Regions from separate parts of the Homo sapiens genome. Here region 1 is linked to region 2. The links are contacts of gene promoters, found by promoter capture Hi-C in human tissues and cell types (Jung and others, 2019). All regions are on one chromosome and are shown on one strand. Each heading gives the region's core, a stretch centred on a gene start or on the middle of the fragment in contact. The rest is flanking DNA. Distances are from core to core; before and after follow the strand shown.

The links. Contacts are between HindIII fragments. The study calls those that stand out against the background at their distance.
Region 1: a contact is called between a fragment that was not itself captured here and the fragment with the promoter of MOCS1 in region 2, in 1 of the 25 tissues and cell types used here (mesendoderm cells).

Annotation. Positions count from the first base shown.
Region 1 is chr6:40,243,032-40,246,236 of GRCh38, forward strand. No RefSeq gene overlaps it. Among named protein-coding and RNA genes, the nearest start is that of LINC00951, 110 kb to the right of the region's middle. The HindIII fragment of the contact is 7,594 bases long and covers 1-3,205 here.
Region 2 is chr6:39,932,984-39,936,419 of GRCh38, forward strand. It overlaps MOCS1 (molybdenum cofactor synthesis 1), which reads right to left and starts at 1,479. Exons shown (of 11, transcript NM_001358530.2): 1 at 1,312-1,479. The coding sequence starts at 1,434. It overlaps LOC102723789 (a long non-coding RNA gene), which reads left to right and starts at 1,586. Exons shown (of 6, transcript XR_001744112.1): 1 at 1,586-1,660. The HindIII fragment of the contact is 11,059 bases long and covers 1-3,436 here.

The DNA of each region.
Region 1 (3,205 bases), core at 450-2,949, 310 kb after region 2:
TAGGCCTCAGGTGGAAATGGAAATGCCCTCCCTGGACAACTGAACCATCTTTTATTATTTTCCACACTCTACCAACAGCTTTGTAAATGTCCTTGTGATGGTTTGTTTTATGTGTCAACTTGACTGGGCTATGGGATGCCCAGATAGCTTGTGAAACATTCTATCTGGGTCTGCCTGTGAGGGTGTTTTGGGAAGAAATTAGCATTTAAATAAGGAGACTGAGTAAAGAAGATCTGCTCCCACCAGTGTGAGTGGACATCATCCAATCTGTTAAGGTCTTGAATAGAACAAAAGGCATAGGTAGAGCAAATTCTCTCTTTTTTCTTGAGCTGCAACATCTAGTTTTCCTGCTTTCAGATGTCAGAGCTCCTGATTCTCAGGCCTTCGGATTCTGACTGAATTATCCCACCAGCTTTCCTGGTTCTTCAGCCTGCAGATGGCAGATTGTGGGACTTCTCAGCATTCATAATCATGTGAGACACTTCCCATAGTAAATTTCCTATCTATCTATCTATCTATCTATCTATCTATCTATCTATCTATCTATCTATCTAGCAATCTAGCTAGCTAGCTATTCTATTGGTTGTTTCTCTGGAGAATGCTGACTTATACTGTCTCTTCACTAAATTTTCCCCAAGCAACCCAATTTCAGGGTGCCACCTGTTTGCTGTAAGGATACTGATGGATGCACCTCATTGCCTAAAATGGAGGCAGGGAAGTTCGCCAGCTAACTCACATATCAGCTTTACCTCAGTGATAGCCATGTCCCCAGTCACACCCTCCAAAAGTGATGTCTGTCTGTTGTCTTTTCTGGGTAAACGGGTGGTTGGTGTACTGGGGTAGGAAGAACAATTATTTTGGAGTCAGGAGTTCTGGGCTGTTGTCATTATTCTCCCACTGACTCATGGTGGGACCTGGAATAGTCCCTTCTCCTCTTTGAGTTTTATTTTGCTCCTCTGTGAAATGGTGCTGGCTGCCATGCTCAGTAACTCTTCTCATGATTGAAGTGCAGGATTCCTGTGTTAAATGCCCCCTCCTCACACCAGCCAGCCATATCCATACGGGACCATCCCTGGGCAGGGAATCCAACCACTCAGGCCTCACTGCTCCTCCCCATCCTGGGGACAAACAAGATCTTCCTTGGGTAACCTACAAACCACTCCTAGGACCTCAGGGAATAAAAGATATCTGTCATGGCTTTTGACGGCTCAGTGGGGAGAAGCAACACACTGTTATCTTCAGGGCTGGAAAGCAGGACTTGAGACTTTCCCTGGGAACACCCTGCTCCCACAGAAAGCCTTCTAGAGCTCAGAACTGCCCAGTAGGAGAAGGAATACCTATCTAAGTGTCTGAAGCTTCCCTGATACTGAACAGGATTCTTACTAACAAAATCAACCAACACATTCATGAAACAGAGCATTTTCATTTGTGAACAAGAAGTCTATAACTTTGTAGAAATCAATGAGCCAAAGCAATCAACTGAGTGGGCTTCTGAACCAAATCTCAGCCCCTTAAAGTAGGGTGGATGTTCTTGTCTGAAAGAGTTTTCCTTTCCCTTTCCATGTATTGAAGACGGTTGGATACTCAGGGAGTCAAGGAAATATATCAGTCAAGTTCTGTGAAAGAAATGGAAAACATCTCTAGGTATTTCAAATGGAAAGATATTAGAGGCATGGAATTAGGTGCCTAAAAATCTTTAGGAGGACTAGAACCCTATGGGTTTCAGGTTGGGTCCAGGGATGCCCCTTGGAACACTGCAAAGCTGACTTGTCAATGGAGCTGCTCCTTCTAGGGCACCTCTAAGCTGTTGAGTTTAAGATCACACTAAGCCATGATTCAGGGCTCAGGAATCCAGGAAAGCAACCCCACAGCTGTGCCCTGTGCCTGTCTGTTTTACTGCTCTCAAAGCTGGTGGGTGGGTCTGGAATGTGATTTTCAGCAACTGTGTCCACTACAACTGCTTCTCCACACCCAAAAAAAAGCGGGCACTGGGAAGCTGCTGCAGAGGAAAAATAAAAGCCACATCTCCTCAACCTCTCTTTCTAGCAGAAATATAATCAAAAGCAGCAGCAAGGTGGCCTCTACCTCACTTTGTCTCCCAAGTCTTATGTAAAAACATTTCATTAGAGAGCTTAATAGATACGTAGAAAAATCACTACAAAGAAGTCTGAGGAATAATGCCGCAATAAACATACGTGTGCATGTGTCTTTATAGCAGCATGATTTATAGTCCTTTGGGTATATACCCAGTAATGGGATGGCTGGGTCAAATGGTATTTCCAGTTCTAGATCCCTGAGGAATTGCCACACTGACTTCCACAATGGTTGAACTAGTTTACAGTCCCACCAACAGTGTAAAAGTGTTCCTATTTCTCCACATCCTCTCCAGCACCTGTTGTTTCCTGACTTTTTAATGATTGCCATTCTAACTGGTGCGGCATTATTCACAATAGCAAAGACTTGGAAACAACCCAAATGTCCAACAATGATAGACTGGATTAAGAAAATGTGGCACATATACACCATGGAATACTATGCAACCATAAAAAATGATGAGTTCATGTCCTTTGTAGGGACATGGATGAAATTGGAAATCATAATTCTCAGTAAACTATCGCAAGAACAAAAAACCAAACACCGCATATTCTCACTCATAGGTGGGAATTGAACAATGAGATCACATGGACACAGGAAGGGGAATATCACACTCTGGGGACTGTTGTGGGGTGGGGGGAGGGGGGAGGGATAGCATCAGGAGATATACCTAATGCTAGATGACGAGTTAGTGGGTGCAGCACACCAGCATGGCACATGTATACATATGTAACTAACCTGCACAATGGGCACATGTACCCTAAAACTTAAAGTATATTAAAAAAAAAAAGAAGTCTGAGGAATGTAATTCTTAGCTTTCCAGCCCTTAAAGTGCAAGAAGACAGCCTAGAAGAAGGGCAGGATGGAGGGCGAGCAAGCTGACCTGTAGTGCCCACACAGCAGGCCTTCCTAAATCAGAAGGAGACTGCTGGCCTCTTTCAAATTCCCTTTGGAGGTTGCCAATCATCTGACACCTCCCCCATTTTCCTCTCAGAAGGGACACGTGGAGACCTATACAGGTAGACTCAATAAGCCTCATTTCCATGCCATAAAAAATTGGACAATTATATGCAGATTTGGTTGAATAATGTTTTTCTGTGTGTTTGTGGAG
Region 2 (3,436 bases), core at 229-2,728:
CCTTCACAGTGTAAAGGGATGGATAGGAGCAGGCTCTCTCCCTGGCCTCCACACAGGGAGGACGGAAAAGCATTAGAGTTGAGTTCCTGCCCTCTACAGCTCTGCGACTGGAGGAAAGTTAACTTAGATTAGCCCCCTCATCTGAACATACAAACTCTACTCACCTCACATGGCTTAGTGAGGACTAAATGCTTCCACATGTGAGTCACTCAACACAGGTTCTCTCATGAAAGACCAGTACAAAATAAACTAGGGGGTGGGGGGCTGGAGAAGAAAAGTCCCTTTTCTTGAATTCTTTAAAGATCTCTCAGCCATCTTTGCTTTCCTATCTCTTCCTCAATGATGTTCAGAGTTTGAGGATACTAAAAAGTCTTCACTTCCCAACCATGGGCCTGCTTATCTGAGGATCCCAGAGGGGCTTAGATTTGGGGAAAGCAAATTTGGCGGAAGTCATTGAGCAATATAGGGGAGGAGGGAGCAGTGATCTTATGAATCCCAGGACAGGAAGCCTAGTTCTGGGAGACGGGGAAAAAAACGCCTAGATAGGTACCGAAAAGAGGTTTCACTAAATGAAAAGAGGTACTTTTCCCCCCAAATTATTCCCTAACCACCTGAGCAGAAGAACAACCAAAACCTAAAACTTTTAATGACTTGAAACACTCTGAGGGGTGCTGGCAAGGACTGAGGGATCTTACCCAAAACCCTAAAGACAGAGGAATTAATTTCTCACCTGGAAGAAGCCACGTCCTGCCCTGTTCTGCTCTAGGATAAGGCTGAACCCTCCCAAGGTTAATAAAAAAGACAAGGAGAGTCAGCAAAGGATGGGTTACAGAGCCCTGGGACTACAGTAACAACTCATCGTTGGTGACACCGAGGTGACATGTTTAGTCAGTCGCACTATGAAGCAGGTGTCACAGGGACACCTGATCTCTCAGCTCTTGGGATAGGGAGGGAAAATGTTTAAGAAAGAGGGTGGGTGCAAGGCAAGGCTGAAAGGTACTAAGACACCTCACTGGACCCAAAGTCCCAGTCCTCTGCTTACCCGAATTTCTGGCCAAGCTCAGGGCTAGAAGGGGTGGCGTGGCTGGGGGGCAGGGAGGTTCTGAAGCGGGACTCCCAGGAACCTCTCCCGCTGGGCTAGCGGGTGAGACCGGGCGGTCCATCTGGAGAACATCGCTCCACTGAGGAGTGCCAACGGGTCCCTCCCAGAAGCGGTCAAGCAGATAGGCCGGGAGCTACTGGGGGAAAAGGGCAGTGTGCCGGGGCCACTCCTGCCCCGGGAAGCTGTGGACGCAGGCGGGGTGGGCTCACCTCCGAGGCAGCTCGCGCGGACTCCCCGGGGCAGGGCTGGGTCACCGGAGCCCCTGAGCTGCAGCTCCGGGCGCTGGACCTCAGAAGCCGCCGCAGCATCCGGGACAGTGGCCGCGCCGCCATGAAGCCTGATACGAGCGGAACCGCAGCCCGCTTCGGGAGCACACTGGCCGGGCACTCGCCCCCGGGGTCATCCCAGCAAGGGCGGGGAGGGGCAGGGGGAGGGCGGGACCCGCGCAGCCAATAGGCGAGGACGCAGTCCCGCGTGGCCTTGTGGGAGCTGTAGTACGCTCCCTGTGCCCACTTTCCTGGGCCGGGGTAGCGCTCTAGGGCAGAAGGGTAAACTCAGGTAAGGAACGGGGTTCTTTTCCTTCCAGTTTTTCTGGCTGCTCTAGTCTCAGATTTAGGTCGTGGTGTGACAGTAGGCAGGACAGGACAAGGGCCAAACGAATGAGGCACTGCCTTGGATGCAAAATTTAAGAGGGTGCCAGGTAAACTGCGGTTATCAAAGTAAGTAATTTTTTAATGTAATATTTCAAAAAATCGTAATAAATTTTCAGAAGTCCGTGAAATATCAACATTCTAAATAAAAAGATTTAGCCTACACTTGCATGACTCACATCACTCAGTGCACCATAGTGCAGATTGTGGTTGTAAAACGGTCAGTTAGGTCTTTCAAGATACACTTCTCCAGTTGTGCCCCAAAAGGATATTAACAATCTTTTTTTTTTTTTTTTTTTTCGTGGAGAAGGCAAGAGTATATGAGAAGTCACAGAATGAGTGGACAACATTTTTGAAATGCTTCTTATACACCAAGCACCATGCTAAATGTTATTTAAAACAATCCTGGTATGAATAGAATGTCCTTTTTGCAACTGAGGACATTGAGGCTTAGAGAGACCAGGTAATTTTCTCGAAGTCACACAGCTGATAGTGGGTTTCAAACCCAGGGCAATCTGCTTTCTACAGTCATTCAGTCAAGATTCAGTATGTGTTAGGAATGGTGGGGTGTGCCTCTTCCTCTCTATAAAAAGCAGAGTGCTGTAGTCCTTTAAGATTTTGGATAACACACACAATAATGAGCTTATGTACTAAGAATAATTATGCTCAAACCAGCCTGTTGTATCCAAAACCCTGTCCCTGTGGAATTGCAAGAATAAAACACCGGCTGGAACATACAGCTGCCAAGTGCATGCTTAGGAAGTGGGAATATAGCTCCTGATCTTGAAGAATTGACCGAATAGTGGGAGAGGAAAAAATAACTGAATATAACTGACTTTTACAAGTGCAGTGGGACTGTCAGAAAAGCTGAGATGATTTTAGCCTTAGATTCAATGTGAATTTCTCACAATGATACTCAAAATTCAGAAAATATATTGTAGGGGATGAAAGTGTATCTGGGGTGTGTTTGAAACTGATGAGACAAGTATGCCAGAGGTCTGTTTGCAAGGGGCCTGAAGACCAACTGAGGACTGTTCAAGCTCTGTCCACTGCTAAGTTTAGATATGTCTGGATTTATCAGGAAAACTGGGTATGGGGGAGAGAAGGATAAAAACTTTTTTTTTTTTTGTATGTATGAGGCTTGAAGAGCCTTCTAGAGAGGACTCAACCTCAGGGAAGAAGCCATCTGACATATGAACTTGATCCAAGAATGTCACCAGCTCCTTGGAGCCTCTCTAGATTCCACCCTCTTCATACAAGTTGTATGTGATCATCCCTTCACTTGGGCTTTACTGTCATCTTTTATAGAACTTGGGTCTCCAAGGCAAGACCTAAGGCTTACTCAGTTCTGTTTGAAGGCTGAAATCCTCTCCATATTATCATACATCTACTTGGACTCCTGTAGTGCTGGGAAACTTTCTGGCTTCCTGATGTTGTCTGGTCCACTTAAATGTTTCCCCACCTATTAAAGTTCTTACTTGTATTCAGCAAAAAAGTGCCCCTTTCTGTCAACATATGGTGATTAAGTGTCATCAGGGCCGAATCCTCTGCTAATGGCTGGGAATAAGGAAATACTTTCAAGGGCTCACAGCCTGCAGTAGGGCTCTGATGTGACAAGTCCATGGATTGATTTGGAGGGTTCTGTAGACCCCTGAACTTGAATGCATAATACTGTATTTTTTTT